Linked DNA regions of Homo sapiens: all the other regions are linked to region 6. The links are contacts of gene promoters, found by promoter capture Hi-C in blood cells and fetal thymus (Javierre and others, 2016). All regions are on one chromosome and are shown on one strand. Each heading gives the region's core, a stretch centred on a gene start or on the middle of the fragment in contact. The rest is flanking DNA. Distances are from core to core; before and after follow the strand shown. Region 1 overlaps LINC02843 (long intergenic non-protein coding RNA 2843). Region 2 has its middle 32 kb from the start of LINC02843. Region 3 has its middle 22 kb from the start of LINC02843. Region 4 has its middle 44 kb from the start of MIR4289. Region 5 has its middle 22 kb from the start of NXNL2. Region 6 holds the start of S1PR3 (sphingosine-1-phosphate receptor 3).

What was found. Contacts are between HindIII fragments. The CHiCAGO score rates a contact against its expected background, and 5 or more counts as called.
Region 1: a contact is called between a fragment that was not itself captured here and the fragment with the promoter of S1PR3 in region 6, in 2 of 17 cell types (M2 macrophages and naive B cells). The highest score is 5.8, in M2 macrophages.
Region 2: a contact is called between a fragment that was not itself captured here and the fragment with the promoter of S1PR3 in region 6, in 4 of 17 cell types (M0 macrophages, naive CD4 T cells, naive B cells and 1 more). The highest score is 7.8, in M0 macrophages.
Region 3: a fragment that was not itself captured here is called in contact with the fragment with the promoter of S1PR3 in region 6 in 1 of 17 cell types (endothelial precursors); the score reaches 5.1 in endothelial precursors.
Region 4: a fragment that was not itself captured here is called in contact with the fragment with the promoter of S1PR3 in region 6 in 1 of 17 cell types (endothelial precursors); the score reaches 5.6 in endothelial precursors.
Region 5: a contact is called between a fragment that was not itself captured here and the fragment with the promoter of S1PR3 in region 6, in 1 of 17 cell types (naive B cells). The highest score is 5.8, in naive B cells.

Annotation. Positions count from the first base shown.
Region 1 is chr9:88,647,106-88,649,805 of GRCh38, forward strand. It overlaps LINC02843 (long intergenic non-protein coding RNA 2843), which reads right to left. Exons shown (of 4, transcript NR_144626.1): 2 at 1-555. Among named protein-coding and RNA genes, the nearest start is that of LINC02843, 3.7 kb to the right of the region's middle. The HindIII fragment of the contact is 2,190 bases long and covers 306-2,495 here.
Region 2 is chr9:88,618,843-88,621,542 of GRCh38, forward strand. No RefSeq gene overlaps it. Among named protein-coding and RNA genes, the nearest start is that of LINC02843, 32 kb to the right of the region's middle. The HindIII fragment of the contact is 2,175 bases long and covers 361-2,535 here.
Region 3 is chr9:88,672,435-88,675,134 of GRCh38, forward strand. No RefSeq gene overlaps it. Among named protein-coding and RNA genes, the nearest start is that of LINC02843, 22 kb to the left of the region's middle. The HindIII fragment of the contact is 341 bases long and covers 1,223-1,563 here.
Region 4 is chr9:88,700,412-88,703,111 of GRCh38, forward strand. No RefSeq gene overlaps it. Among named protein-coding and RNA genes, the nearest start is that of MIR4289, 44 kb to the right of the region's middle. The HindIII fragment of the contact is 1,287 bases long and covers 740-2,026 here.
Region 5 is chr9:88,556,297-88,558,996 of GRCh38, forward strand. It overlaps a transcript of NXNL2 not described here. Among named protein-coding and RNA genes, the nearest start is that of NXNL2, 22 kb to the left of the region's middle. The HindIII fragment of the contact is 1,121 bases long and covers 841-1,961 here.
Region 6 is chr9:88,990,176-88,992,875 of GRCh38, forward strand. S1PR3 (sphingosine-1-phosphate receptor 3) reads left to right here and starts at 1,293. Exons shown (of 2, transcript NM_005226.4): 1 at 1,293-1,520. RefSeq lists a silencer at 839-1,133. The HindIII fragment of the contact is 3,077 bases long and covers 380-2,700 here.

The sequences.
Region 1 (2,700 bases), core at 151-2,650, 340 kb before region 6:
GGTTTCCACATCACAATCCACCCAGCACGAGCACTGCTCAATGTTCCTGGACAAGAAGGTATCATCTCACAAAATTATTCATGCAAATAGAATCACTTGACTATCCCACCTGCTCACCCGATTTTCCTTTATAGTTTGAATCCTGGCTGAGTCCCAAGAAGGACCCTGTTATACAACTAGCACATTCTTAGTTTTGAGCACTCTGTGTTCTGTAACTTCTTGCATTATAAACCAAACTAACATGATTTTCTGCCTCCCCTGATTTCACTGGTGCCGTCATCATTCATCGAGAGGTTGATTTGCAAAGCTTTTCTCTGGACACATGGAGAAGATGACACGCTGGCCAGCCACAGGGAAGCATGTCCCGTGTCTGCCACTCATATAAGCTCTTCAATATATTGTCTCTGTTTATCATCACATATACATAATGAGTTATCATCTCTCCTGTTTTGTAGCTGATGAACACATTTCCAGGTCTCAGCAGTGAGTAAGGGGTTGGATTAAGCACCATGCTTTTCACTGCTATTCCTTGCTGTCTTCCTGCTCTGAGTTTATCTGAAACACAAAGGAGAGAGAATAAGTGTCTACACTGTGGTTTTCCAAACTGACCTCCTTCAATGTACCTAAGAAAGAAGAAAGAGTAATCATCTTATTATCAGAAAATGATTCTAACTATTGAGCTGCTGATATGTATTATGAACACAAATCTCAGCCCCCAAACTCAGATGTGTAGGTTTTTAAAAAATCACCTGTAATTCAACTTAGTATCTACTTCAGGCCTCATTCCCCTGAGCTGGTGGAGCAGGGTAGTTCCATCTCTTTTGGGGTCCCCTCACTGTGGAGGTGGGTGAAATTTGTGGGGCTTGTGTAGTGACCCACTCTCAAGGTGGTGGTTGGTGCCCAGTTGATCTTTGTCATCTCTATACACAGGTAATAACTTGGTCTTGGTCTTAGTCATTGTCCTGGGATGGGGTGTAAAAACATGTGTTGTTTTATGCCCCGCATTCAGGCACACCAGTCTTTCCAAGGATGGCAAGACAGGCAGGCTTCCATGCGGCCAGGGCTTTGCTATTTCTCTGTAGGTTGCTGGAAGGCCTGCACAGCCATGGCTCCTTCACCAGAGCAGCTCCCCTGCATCCACCCAAACCACTCTCCACAAAAGCCAGAAAGCCTGGAAGCAATGAGACCAAAATGGTCCCTCTGCTCGAGTAGGAGGAAAAAAGCAAAGTGAAAACCTACCCAGCCACATAAATTAAAATTTTTCCAATTATTATAAAATGCTTTTCTTCCTCCCTCTTTCTCTTTATCTGTGCATACTCTTGGGGTTTAGCTCTCTTCTAGAAACTTTCCCTAATTGCTATGGTGCCAGAAATATTCTTTTCTCTGAACTTCCATTTTTCAATTAACATCTGACACATCTTTTATTAGCTTAAAAAAAAGTTAGTGTCTTGTCTCCCTAACAGATTGTGCTCCCCTAGGTCTGGGGCTGTGTCCAACTTCTTTATCCGCCCCCCCCTTTTTTTTCAATACCTAAACAGTGCTAGGTATAGGGAGTAGCCTAAAGAAAAGTGTGTTGAATGTTTAAATTACTAAATAGGTACATGTTCAAATGCACAAATAGGCTACACGTTGTATTATTTGATTTTTTTCAAATAATACAAGAGTGTATAAAGTCATTTCCAATTCCTTCTTTATCACTGGAAATATTCTTTAATCTGAAATCAACTTTGTCTGATATTAATATAGCCACTTCAGTCTTTTTTTTTTTTTGAGACAGAGTCTCCCTCTGTCACCCAGGCTGGGGTGCAGTGGCGTCATCTTGGCTCACTGCAGCCTCTGCCTCCCAGGTTCAAGTGATTCTCCTGCCTCAGCCTCCTGAGTAGCTGGGATTACAGGCACTCATCACCATGCCTGGCTAATTTTTGTATTTTTAGTAGAGATGGGGTTTCACCACATTGGCCAGTCTGGTCTTGAACACCTGACCTCAAGTCGTCCGCCTGCCTTGGCTTCCCAAATTGCTGGGTTTACAGGTGTGAGCACTGCCCCCGGCCATCCAGTCTTTTTTTGAGAAGGGTTAGCACAGTGTATCGTTGTTGAACATTTTAATTTTAATCAGTTTGTCTATTTATATTTAAAGAGAATTTCTTGTGTTTATTAGGTCTTGTTTTTTTGATTCAATATGACAATCTCTGACTTTTTATTGTGGTGTTTAAACCGTTTATACTTAATATGATTATTGCTGTGGTTAGGTCTAAGTATCTCCTCCTGCTATTTGCTTTCTATTTGTAACGTTTATTCTGTGTTACCCTTTTCCTCTATTTTTGCCTTTTTAAAAGTTAATTGAAAATTTTTATGATTCCATTTTATCTTCTTTGTTGGATTTTAGCTGTAACTCCTTGTTTTGTTCTTTTACTAGTTGTTATAGGGTTTAAAATATTTAACTTAATATAGTCTACCTTCAAGTCATATTATACAGGTTCACTGACAGTATAAGAAGCTTAAATAATATACTTCTATTTGCCCTTTTCCACCTATATAGTCTTTATGGTTTTGTTGTCATACATTCACTTTTATGTATGTTACGAACTCCATAGTACATTGGTATTACTCTTGATTAAACAATTATATTTTCAAAAGATTTAAATTCTAAAGTATATATATTTACCAATGTATTTAATAGTTATCATTTCTGGTACAGTT
Region 2 (2,700 bases), core at 198-2,697, 370 kb before region 6:
TCACCATGTTGGTCAGGCAGGTCTCAAACTCCTGACTTTGTGATCCGCCCGCCTCAGGCTCCCAAAGTGCTGGGATTACAGGCGTGAGCCACTGCGACTGGCCTTAATTGCTTTTTAAAAACTTCCTTAATGACATATAATGTTGGACATATTTTCATATGCTTATTTGCTATCTGTGTATCTTCTTCAGTGAAGTGTCTGTTCAGATCTGTGGCCTAATTTTCAGTTGGGTTGTTTATTGTCTCATTATTGAGTTTAAGAGGCCTTTGTATACTTTGGATACCAGTCCTTTAACAGATATATGTTTTGCAAATGTTTTTTCTAGTCTGTGATTTTTTTTATTGTCATGATCTTTTGCAAAGCTTATATTTTTGATTTTACTGAAGTCCAACTTATCAATGTTCTCTTTCATGGATTGTGTCTTTGGTGTGGCATCTAAACACTAAATCCAAGGACACTTAGGTTTTCTTCTATATTACCTTCTAGGAATTTTATAATTTAGCATTTTACAATTAGGCCTATGATCCATTTTGAGTTAATTTTTGTAAAAAGTGTAAGGCCTATGTCTGGATCCTTATTTTTCCTGTGAATGTCCTATTGTTTCAACCTAATTTGTTGAAAACACTATCCTTTCTTCACTGAAATGTTTTTGCTCCTTTGTTAAAGATCAGATGACTGTATTTACGTGGGTCTGTTTCTGGGATCTGGATTCTGTTCCACTGATCTATTTATTTCTTCTTCTGCCAATACCATATTGTTTTTATTACTTTAGCTTTATAGTAAGTCTTGAAATTAGTTTGTGTCCTTCAGCTTTGCTGTTTTATAATATTGTCTTGGCTATTCTGGGTCTCTTGCCCCTCCATATAAACTTTAGAGTCTTATTGTTATTATCCACACAATAGCTTGCTGAGATTGTAATTGGGATTATGTTGAATCTATAGATCAGTTGGGAAGAACTGACATTTTGACAATATTAAATCTTTCTATTTATGTACATGAAATATCTCTCCATTTATTTAGGTATTCTTTGACTTTCATCATAGTTTTGTAGTTTTTGTGCAATTCATATAGGTCTTGTACATATTTTGTTAGGTTTTGTTTTGAAAGCCCCTAGCTAAATTGGTGTTCCAGTACCACAGTGGCTAGTAACTCTACCCTAACAAGAAATGAAGGGTAGTAGATGGGGGTGTTTATAGTGTGCCTTTCATGCGATACTTATTTTACCTGGTAGACAGCCTAATGCCTCATTTTCTGACCTATGAACAGTGTCCCTCACACAGGAAACTTGTTTACCTTAGCAGATGACCTTGTGGTTCTTGTTTGACCTTGTCCAATTTATGCCTACCTGACTATTGCTTTGGTGCTGCGAGCCCAACCTTGTGTTCTCCTCAGTTTCCCATGGAAAACCCAGCCTGGGGTAGCCCTTGGTTCTTCAGATGGAAGGCACAAATTCAGATTGAAGGCTCATCTGCTTAAAGGAAGCAGCAGAAAAAACAGAGAGCCCAGGCTGCTAGGCAGGAGAGATACCTATAAGTTTTTATCTCTGGCCACTGGCTTGAGCAATTTGAGTGTGGTGTTCTATTTCTAATGCCTAAACATGGCAACCTTTGCTGTGCCATTTCCATTACAGATTTATACCCAAGGACTTCACTTTTTGATGATAATAAAAACAATATTGTGTTTTTAATATTCAATTTCAGTGTTCATTGTTGCTATGTAAGAAAGCAATTAACTTTTAAAAAAAATTATTACCTTGCATTCTGCAACTTGCCTGTAGGTTAATTCTCCTGTGGATCCTTGGCTGAGGAAAGCTGTGATGAGAAAGCCCTGGGAACTGAATTAGGTCTTCTGAGACTTCTGAGCCAGTCATTCATTCAACAGAAAATTATTTACCACTTCTCTATGACAAGGTACTGTGGGAGGCTATGGATGAAGGATTCCTACCCTGGAGAGGTGAATAGCACCATAGGCATTGCTAACGTCAAGTTTGCGCACGCTATCAGAGGGGAAGAGAAAGAATTTCCAGGTATGAGGGAAGACTCTTCTTCCTCTTAGATGTCTCACTAAGAGGAGAGCATAGTGGCCCCAGAAAATTAAGCTGACTGGGTGCCACTAGGAAGATATTTTCCTAGTCTGTATTTTCCAGGGCAGAACATTAAAAATTGTTTTCCTCCAATATATATTTTTATGGAAGACAAAGATCAGAATTATAATGACCAGAAGAGATGGTGAATTAGAATGAATCTCATCTTCAGTGCTATTGATTTTGTTCAGGAAGCTAACCTCCAGATAAGGGTCACAGTATGCCTTGGTAAGACATTGGAAATATCAATTCATTTAATGAGACACACAAGTTAGGAATAATTATGAAAATATATTTGCATAATGTGAAATAATCTTAAGTGCATGTGAAAATACATTCAAAATGCCACAAAGTATTAACTGAACATATTGTCTGTGTAGGTTTTTTTCTACTAGTCATTTGTTCTTTATTCATTTTGTTTTCTACCAGTTCTCAGTGGATAATTGGTACCAAGCTTCTAAATTTAAGAAAAATTTAGGAGAGAAAAACTTAAAATAAAGAAAATTTTATCCATATTGTATATGTATGAGTACTTGGTAAGAAATTGGCATAATTTAATTTTAGCAGCAGGACACCTTGTTCAGGATAGAGAGAAAGGGCTTTATTTGAAAACTACT
Region 3 (2,700 bases), core at 143-2,642, 320 kb before region 6:
GTTTGTGTTGTGGATATGGGTTGTGTGTATTGTGAATGGGGTGTGTGGGGATATGTATCGTGTGTGTGGTGTGGTGTGTGTAGTGTATTATCTGTGTGTATTGTTTGGTGTGTGTGGGGTATGTATGGTGTGTATTTGTGCGGTGTGTGTACTGTGTGGTCTGTATGTGGTGTGTGGGGTGTGTGGGGGTATGTATGGTGTTTATGTGTGTGGTGTATGTAGTGTGTAGTCTGTGCTTATCGTGTGTGGTGTATGAGGTGTGTGGGGGTTATGTATAGTGTATGTGTGTGTCGTCTGGTGTGTGTGGTGTGTGGGGTACATATGGTGTGTATGTGTGTGGTGTATGCAGTGTGTGGTCTGTGTATATTGTGTGTGGTGTATGGGGTGTGTGGGGTATTTATATTGTATGTGTGTGGTGTGGTGTGTGTATTGTGTGTGGGATGTGTATGATGTGTGTGTGGTGTGGTGTGTGCAGCGTTTGGTTTGTGTATTGTGTGTGGTGTATGGGTGTGTGTGGGATATGTATAGTGTATGTGTGTGGTGTGGTGAGTGTAGTGTGTGTGGTGTGTGGGATGTGTGGCGGGTATGTATGGTGTGTAGTGTGTGGTGCGTGTAGTGTGTGATCTGTGTGTATTGTGTGTGGTGTATGGGGGGTGTGGGGGGTATGTATAGTGTATGTGTGTGGTGTGGTGTATTGTGTGTACTGTGTGTGGTGTGTGGTGTGTGCGTGGGTGTGTATGGCATGTGTGTGTGGTGTGAAGTGTCCAGTGTTTGGTCTGTGTTTATTGTGTGTGGGGTGTGGGGTGTGTATGGTGTGTGCGTGTGGTGCAGTGTGTGTAGTGTGTGGTCTGTGTGTGGTGTATGGGGTGTGTGTGGGGGTATATATGGTGTGTGTGTGGTATGGTATATATGTGTATATGTGGTGCGTAGTATGCGTGTATGTTCCACACCAGACTTGAGGAGATTGTTTACCAGGCTCTCCCTGGCAAACACCCCAGGAGGCTGCAGGCGGAGGGATGGGTTTCCAGGGACAGAAGCGGCAGCTCTCACTGCAGGAGGCGCCATTTCCTGAGACCAGAGAAGCCAGGTTGTGTGGGAGAAGCCATCTTGGGGAAGGCCCAGCTCCTCACCAACTTGGGAGGATGTCGCTTCACCCCATGGCCTATCCTGGCTGGGAAGGAGAGCATCCCAGCAGTCAGGAGTGTGGACAGAAAAATGAAAAAGCTTTCAGAATATTCTACTCGGCATTAGGGCCCCAGGACCGTGTAGAGCTGGGAGGAGGTTCCTATAATGCTGGAGGTTGAATTTTCATCAACTGAGTGGGATGCAGATTCTGACTCAGATTTCATTTGCTTTTTGGGAAAATAATAGACACTTCTTGTATTCCCACGTTAATGTTTGCAAGTTCATTTTCACTACATGGAAAGAACATATCGTAGGCATATCTTACTAATGTATCCAAGGCATTAACACACAAAAAGATGCAGATGAATAAAATGATTTTAGCTCAGCAAGCAAATGGGTAAATGGGTACCAGAACACTAAACAACGAAGTTTGGGTGAAGCTTTGCATCTGGTTCCTATTAACCAAATTTGAGACAAAATATGCATTCCAAGTTTCCTGCCACTTAATTTAAAAAGCAATTTGGATTCAGGGGTCTCAGCTGAAGCTTGGTTTCAGCAATCCCATAGGCATTGAAACCACAAGCAGCCATAATGAGCCAGGCAGGCTCATAATTTCTTTCCCATATTGTAAAAGCAGTAACAACCACCTCTCAGAATATTTGGAAAATAGACAGTCGTCTCTCAAATCTCCTTCCAAATATAACTTTTAGCACTTTATGGGACATTCTTTCAGTATTGTTCTTGTGAAAATGGAAAGGATGTTATGTATATATTTGTGTGTGTGTATATATGACACATACACACATATATACACACATTTGTATTTATATTAGTATGAAAACACTCATACAATAGAAAATGGGGTGTACCATCTTTTAAGTTTTTTTTTTTTTATGTTGTAACATGGACATCATGACCCTTGTTTTTCTTCTTGCTTATAGATGTATAAGATGCTTCAGATGTATATCCTAGTTCCTAAACTATCTTCTGTGGCAGGTCATCAGGATGCCACTGATTTTTTGCTACTGGAAATAATGGTGTAGTCAAAACCTTTGTGCAGAAAGCTGTCAGTCAGAGGCAGGAACTTCTGAGGCTCAATGTTTTCCTTATGTCACCAAATCGCTTTCTAAAGGGCTGTGCCATTGTGCATCCAGCAGAGCCTATTTCACATACCTGTATCAGCTCTGTCCACCTTACTCTGAGGGTGCCTGGAAGATTCCGCTGCCTCTCCTCTTGCAGGACTACTGAGGGAGACTCGGGGCACCAACCCAGGCCATGGTTTTCCTCTGATGTTCAGTGTGCTGTCACCTTTGATAGTCTTAATTGGAAATAGAGACAAAAGCCCTTGGACCACAGCTTCCCCTTAACCTCCCATGATGGTCAGATTTCTGTGTCATCTTAACTGGCCACAGCCCCCAATTACCTAATCGAACACTGGCCTAGGTGTTGCTGTGAAAGTATTATGCAGATATGATTAAAGTTCATCATCGGCTAATTTAAGTAAGGGAGATTATCGTAGATGATCTGGGTGGGCCTGGTTCAATCAGTCAGAAGGCCTCAAGGGCAGAGTGAAGG
Region 4 (2,700 bases), core at 133-2,632, 290 kb before region 6:
AGATGTAGATCTAGATACCCTACTGGTTCTGTATCTCTGGAGAACCTTGACTGATAAAACAGTAAAAAGCTTGGCACATGTGTGAACTTGGCTGAGGGTAATGGCAGCACATCCTCTCCAAAGGGAAGGACATTTTACTTGTCCTCGCACCCCCATTGCTAAGAAGGAAATATGATTCTGGTTTGGCTTCTTTAAAATGCAGTGGCAGGCCAAGTGTGATGGCTCACACCTGAAATCCCAGTGCTTGGGGTGGCTGAGGCAGGAGGATGGCTTGAGGTCAGGAGGAGTTCAAGATCAGCCTGGGCACATAGTGAGATCTTGTCTCTACAAAAAAATGTTTAAAAATGCAGCGGCAACAGGCACAAAGTTTGGGTATGTCTGTGGGTTCACCAGGAGGCTGGCAGCTGTGGGTGAAGCTCAGAGACACAGCAGGCTCTCCAGCTGGACAGGGAAGCATAGCCATGGCTCTGCCATGGGCCTTGGAGACATTGCATGTCCACGTGGCTTAGGGTCCTGTGTGGAGTCTCTGGCCATCCCATAGGGAATCACAGGGCAGCCCCATGGCATTTGAAGCACACCAGAACCATCGCAGCTTCAAGGTGTTTCTATTGCTTCAAGGAACTTAATTCTGCCAACAACCACGAGAGCTTGGAGGAGGACCCCAAGCCTTGTGTGGGACCCAGCCCTGGCTAGTCCTTTGACTGCAATCTTGTGAGTCCCTATGCAGAGATTCCAGCCAAGCTTTACCCAGACCCCTGACCAACAGAAACTGTGACATAGTAAATGAGTGTTTTCTTTTTATTTATTTATTTATTTATTTTTTGAGACAGGGTCTCACTCTATCGCTCAGGTTGGAGTGCAGTGGCATGATCTCTGCTTGCTGCAACCTCCACCTCCTGGGTTCAAGTGATTTTCCCATCTCAGCCATCTGAGTAGCTGGGACTATAGGCATGTGCCACCATGCCCGGCTAATTTTTGTATTTTTAATAGAAATGGGGTTTCACCATGTTAACCAGACTGATCTTGAACTCCTGAGCTCAAGTTATCTTCCAGCCTCAGCCTCCCAAAATGCTGGGATTACAGATGTGAGCCACTGTGCCTTGCCATAAGTGAGTGTGTTAAACCACCAACTTTGTAGAAGTATGTTATGCAGTAATATAAAAATAATACAAATCCTAATTAACCATACAGCCTTGGCTGCTGATTGAGATTCCAGCATCCTCTAATTCATTTTTTGTTAAAGTTGGGAGTATGCACAAGCACTTGTCACCTGGTGGCATTGGTAAATACTGGATGGAGCTTGGCCATTTCCTGAAGGCATCAATTCTCACTCACTCTCTCTGTCTCTGCAAGCTAAAGGGGAGCCAGATTCTCTCTCACCTGCCTCCTGAAAGCTGGCGTGGGGTTAAAAATCTAGGCCAGGGCAGCTGGAAGCCCCCACCAGGGGTTCTTTATTAATGATGCAAAGATGCTGGGTAACTTAGAGACCGTTCCTGGGGGAGGTGGCTGAGGCAGGAGGGTGGCCTGGGGGTGGGGGGAGACTGTGGTGGTGGCAGTGATTCCTCCTGGAGACAGGAGACTCCTCTCACTGCTTGTGCCCTCAGCTACCCACCCCTTTCTGCTCCTGTTCTGCTTCTGAGCCTGGCTCTCCTGATCTCCCCTCAATTCCATGAGTTGCCTACTAGTCTTCCAGTACATTGCTGAAGTTAGCATCTGTCTGCCTCTAAGAACCCTTCCCAATTCAGCTGAGAAGTGCTGGCTCCTCTGCCCTCCTTACTTTTTCTCATGTCTCCTTACTTGGATAAGTATTGGGTTTCTCAGATTTGATCAATGACATCTCCATAAAGCTATCCAGTTGTTGTGTCTAAAATGAAGGCCAACTCAAAGCAGAAACTGTGTGATTTAGTGCTGCTGGGATAGGCGGTTCTCTTATCTAGGTCCCTGTGTGGCCTGGTACAGCTTGCCCAGACAGCCTGCTCTGATCATGCAGTGAGGAAAAGAAAAAGTCTTTTTTCTGCTTGAGAGAAGCTTCTTCCTTCTTTCTGCTTGAACTGTCATTGCTTCTTCTCCCTCTGTGGGGCTATATCTGAAGAATAGGTGATATTTTATATACAGAACAGCATGAGATTTCTCCAGAAGCAGAAGAATAGCAATGTCCTTAGTGTGGAGTGAACTAGCACCTGAGTGATATTCATTACAGAAATGCGTTTCCAGAAGGGACCAGAAATGTCCCCTTAATGGAAAGAAATTGCTGCTACGTTAGGATCAAAGATGAAAGGGGAAGGTAATGCGTGCTTAGAAGGAGAGCTTTCCATCTCACACACTGTTCGTGTTGGCTGCAGAACTGGAGGGTGTCACAGGCGTCTAATGGATATATGCTCCCTGGGCACCACACACTGGGCCCTTGACCACTGCTAGAGCATGGAGGAAGGGGTTTGGGGGGCATGATGAAGAAAACCTGACTTGTTGTATTCATTAGTGCTTCCATAAGTCAACTTTCGGTAAAAGGCTGCATAATAAATATGTTAAATGGACAAAAGATTTTTATGGGAGTATTTTATCACTGACATTATTTAGGTCTGTTGGCTCAGGATGTTAATAAAAAGAAGACCCATATGAAGTCACAATTCTGGTGAGTGGAATGAGCAGCCCAGGGGAGCAGAACCCACAGAAAATGTTCATTTTGACTGCGAAGTAGGT
Region 5 (2,700 bases), core at 151-2,650, 430 kb before region 6:
GTGTTACAGCTCCTTTCTCACCCACTGTTTGGTGGGTCTTGGGTTCTTGTCCAAGAAGAATGAGGTTACATGGACAAGCGGAGAGTCAGCAAGGCAGAGAAGAGTTTTATTGAGTGACAGAACAGTTTTTGACATGAGAGGGGACCCGAAGTGGGTAACCCATATCTGAAGGTGGGTAGTCCCAACATGTAGCTGAGTCCAGGGGTTTCATGGGCTCAGAATGGGGGAGTGTGTGCTGATTGGTCCATAAGCAGTCCTGGAAAAAGCACCATTTGACTGGCTATAAAAGCATCAAGGAAGTTCTCACTCAGGTCATGGACTCTACCTGGAGCTGGCTGCCTGGTTTTCAGGCTTCAGGCTGTCTATGGCTTGAAGATCAGGTTTCATTGGGGACCTGCCCCTGTCTGCCTAGGAATTTGTCTGCCTTCTACTGCTATCAACACTTTGGCTCATCAGATTGTTGTAATTATGCATTCAGCCTTCCATAGAAAGATGTTAGGCCAGGTGCAAGCGGCTCACACCTGTAATCCCAGCACTTTGGAAGGCCAAGGCAGGCGGATCATGAGCTCAGGAGGTCGAGACCATCCTGGCTAACACGGTGAAACCCCGTCTCTACTAAAAAATGCAAAAAAAAATTAGCTGGTTGTGGTTGCAGACCCCTGTAGTCCCAGCTACTCAGGAGGCTGAGACAGGAGAATCGCTTGAACCCGGGAGGCGGAGGTTGCAGTGAGCCAAGATCATGCCACTGCATTCCATCCTAGGTGACAGAGTGAGACTCCATCTCAAAAAAAAAAAAAAAAAAAAAAAAGAAAGATGTTGAAATTCTGTTAAGCTTCCCTAAGCTTTGTTCATACAAGCAATCCCAAACTTCTACTACACTTTGAAGCACAGATTTCCATTCTTTGGAATACATTCTTCCCAAGTGGGCTGTCCTCAACTTTGTACTGTTGGGATAAATTCTCTTTGAACTAGATTCTGAACCTTTTGATTATTTTAGGTTGACAATACTGTTGGGACATTGGCTTTAAAAGAGACCTGAGAAATCACAGGCTTGGGTGGCTTTCCTTTCATGCTGGGCATCAAATTTTCCAAATTTTCCTAGTGGAGGCTCCTGCACCAGAGTCAGGATTTCTGCAGAGATCACAGGGTGAGCACGTTCTTAAGGTAAACGTGAATTAAGCAAATGCACAAACATATGCACAAACAACTTTTGCTGTCAGAGTCATTCCAATTTGCAGAATCACTGGGCTTGAAATGACTTCCCTATACCCTGTGTTCAGGTGGAGTGGAGCCACCAACAGCTAAGACAGGAGGCAGGAATAGTCTAATTTCTGAACAACTGACCTTTGTCCAAAAATGAGCGCTGACTGGCAACCTTGGTTTACAATTGTGCTTTCCACCTCACACTACCCAGAGGAGGAGAATGGCAAAGCCCAGAAAACCAGCCAACCAGCAGCCACTCATCAGAATCCCTGCAGTCACTCAAGAATCTGCAGGTTAGATAGAGCATAATTTCCAGGAGGGATTATTTCACTCTCCTGTTTGAGCATACAGTTGGAATGAGGGGCCTTTGCTCTCTCTTTCCAGGAAATTTCCCCTGCAACAATTTTTCTGCCCTTGCTTCATTCAGCAGACATCACTGAGAACGTGTTCAGTGGGAATAGGATTGTGCCTCTGTGATACTGTGAAATATATATTTGGGCTTCATCTGTTTCCTGGCACATGGCTCATAAAACACTTGGAATCTCCAGAGTGATGAGTCTTTTGTATGTCAATGAAATGACTGCTGGTTGGGGGCCCCTGAATAGCCTCAGGATGGGGCTGGTTCCCAGGGGAACCAACCATGTGGTCAGAGGGTTGGAACTTTCAGCTCCGATGGGACCTCCTGGGAGGGAAGAGGGGCTGAAGATTGAGTTGACCACCAATGGCCAATGATGTCATCAGTCATGCCTACATAATAAAGCTTCCATGAAACCCCAAAAGAGCAGAGTTTGGGGAGTTTCTGGCTAGCTGAACACGTAGAGATTCCTGGAGGGTGGTGTTCCCGGAGAGGGCATGGAAGCTCCATACCCCTTCTCTCATATGCATCTCCCTAAGCATCTCTTCATCCTCAGACATCCTTACATAATCTGTATCCTTTTTCATATATTTTATAATAAATGGATAGATGTAAGTGAAGTGTTTCCTTGATTTCTGTGAGCTCCTGTAGCAAATTAAACAAACTTAAGGAGAGGGTCATGGGAACCCCTATGTATAGCCACTGGGTCAAAAGCACAGGTTAAACAACCTGGGGCTTGGTTGGTGTCTGAAGTAGAAGAGGCCGTCTTGTGGGACTGATCCCTTAACCTGTGGGATATGACCCTACATATCCCAACCTGCCTGCTAACTATAGGCAGGTTGTGTCAAAATGGAATCGAATTATAAGACTCCCAGCTGGTGTCCACTGGAGAACTGGTTGATGTGTAGGGAAAACCCCCACACATCTAATGTCAGAAGTGAGTGGTGAGTGGTAGTGAGAATAGGAGAAATACCTTGGTTTTTCCTGTCTCTTAGCCTCCTTCTACCTGTAGGGGCTTAGGTCTCAAGGGGAGAGATGGCAGGTGGAGATAGTCCCCTCTGATCCCAGGTGGCAGGTCCATCAGCACTGATGTGGTCCCTGTCCCCATCTTTCCCCTTATGGCACCCAGCACTCAACCTCCC
Region 6 (2,700 bases), core at 43-2,542:
CAGGCAGAGTCACTTGCCTCCTTCAGCTCAATTGCTGAGGGCTTGCGTTTCTCTGCAGGGAACAGGAGTGCCGCCGACTTCCACTCTTGGTGCCCTTCACCGCTCAAACTGCACCCCAAATAAGCGTATGCACCCTGCTCCAAGAGAAGGATGCGCTGGGCTGATCCTCTGGAGGCAAGAGGGCAAAAGACAGAAAGTAACGAGCGGCCTTTGCACAAACTCAACTCTCTGCAGCGGCCCCTGCGGCCCAATCCTGCCGGCCCAGGAATGCACGGTCGGATAACAGGCCTCTCCTTGCTTTTTCGTCTTCTTCCTCCCGCTTCTCTCCTCTCTCCTTTTCCTCCTCCTCCTTTTTCTTTAATTTTCTCCTTTCTCCCCAAGCTTCTACAGTTGTTTCTGTGTTCGCTCAATCATGGCCTTTGGCATTGATTGAAAATTTGGCAGTTCCTTCTCTCGGAATTCTGTTTGAAGCCTTCATATGGATTTATTATTATTATTATTATTTTTGCCACACAAAAGGGGCAAATCCGCGTGAGGAAGGGGGTCGCATGGGGGTCGGCTGAGATCTGCTGGCTGCCGGTCTAGGAGGGGCGCTGCTCTGTGCCGGAGTGGGCTCTGGTGCACCAGCAGAGGCTGGGGGAGAGTGCTGCCCCCGCCTGGAGCCCAAGTCTCTGCGTGCCTGGGGGTAGAGCGCGGAGAGGGACCAGGCAGGCGCCGGAGGGGACCCGCGCGGAAAAGGAAGAAGCCCAAACAAAAACGCTGTCCGGCGCCAGGCGCCCACCTGCAAGCCCAAGCCGGTGCTCGGCCAGTTACAAAAGAAATGGTCAGGATCTGGACAACGATAATGATAGTATTAATCCTCCTATTAAGAATCGGCCCAAACAAACCCTCGCTGTCAGGGCGACAGGCGCCCGCCCAAGCCCAGACCTCGGACCTGGTTCCAAGCCTGTTCCCGCTGGGTCTCTGGGCGCCCGGTTTCTGCACCTGGAGCTCGCCCGATGAGGACAAGGTCTGGAGGCCGGCCTGGGAACAGGGGCCGAAGGGCGAGCCGGACCCTAGGGGATTGGTAGGGTCGGGGAGAAGGGGTCCAGGCTAGGGGCGGGCGGGGCGCACGGAGACCAGGCGGCTTGAGCGGGAGGTGGGGAGCTGGAGGAGTGCCGGGTTCGCGGGCGGGGGACGGGGAGAGGGGGGCGGGGAGAGGGGCGGGAGTCGGGGGCGGCGAGGGGAGGGGCGGAGCGCGGGTCCCGCCCCGGCGGGCCGCTGGAAAAGTTTAGTCTCTGACTCGCTCGGGCAGAGGCCGAGGAAGCCGGTTCCGGGGACGGGCAACAGGGACTCAGGGACCAGAAGGCGGCTGCAGGACGCGACCGAGCAGGACCCCAGGCCCGGGAACGACGTCGCGAGCGCTGAGACTGCCGGGCCTCCCAGCCCATCTGGCATTCGAGCGCAGGACCGGGCGCCCCGGCACCGCCGCGCGCCACCCGCTAGGATGCCGGTGGCCCCAGCGCCCTCAGCCGACGGAGGTGAGAGGCGGGCCCGGGCGGGGCGCGGAACCAGGGTGGGGGGCTGGGGGCCGAAGGACCCACCTTTCCAACAAAATCCCCACCGATCCCGGGCGCGACGGGGACTTGGGCGCGCCACGGCGGCCGGAGCGCTCCACATCAGCACCCCTCCCCCAGAGCCGCTGCAGGAACAGGGAGGAGGCCTTTTCCACCGCACCCGGAGCGTTTACAACGGGCTGGAGCTGAATACCTGGATGAAAGTGGAGAGGCTGTTCGTGGAGAAGTTCCATCAGTCGTTTTCCTTGGACAATTAACAAGTTAGGCTTCCACAGTGCCAGGGCCTGGGGATGCTGGACGTGGGAGAGGGTTGTGGTCGTTAGCCTGGGAAAATCATTCTTTTAAACAATATTCGCCGGAAAATTAGTTTTTTCCTAACATTTCTCAAACAAGGCAATTAGGGCCGTCAGAATCGGTGCTGGAAGACGAAGTCCCCACAGTGCAATAATGAGGTTCCCACGGAAAATCAGTACGTTGTGTTCGTAACTGAGATAACAGCTAGAGAAGGGGCTTTGGGCTTTTTGAGTCTCCCAATAGTCAGTCTCTCTCTCTCTCTCTCTCTCTCTCTTCCTCTGACTTTCTGGCTTTGGACACTCCCAATGGTATATTTCTTTGTGGTGTTTTTATATTTGGATATAAGAGAGGAACTTCTTGTTGGATTTTTAAGGGAACACACTTCGTTTTGACCCTTCCAATAAGGAAAGGGGAGCTACAGGAACAGAGAGCTCTTTAGAAGGTTACTTTTAAATGGAGGCCCCCCCATTCATGGTACCCACTCCCACTTGGACCTCTGAGACCTCCAGAATTAGGCATCATTCTAAAATCTGGACATTAGAAGTCACAGACTTTGTATATAACCACATATTCATAATTTATCTTTTCAATGTTTTTTATTCATAGATGAAAATCTTGCAGGCATAGTTAAGAAAAATATAATTCCTAGAAAGTACAAGGGAAGGATTATGCTCTGCAGATACATGACTAACAAGGATAGCTGGCCATGCCCAGGGCTGGTGTTGGTTGAGGAGGTGGTGATGGTGCGGGGCATGTGTGTGTGTGTGTGTGTGTGCGCTTGAGGAGTTGTGGAAGTGTTCATATCTGTAAAGTATTATTTCATGGATGCAGACCTTAATGCTAGGTTGAA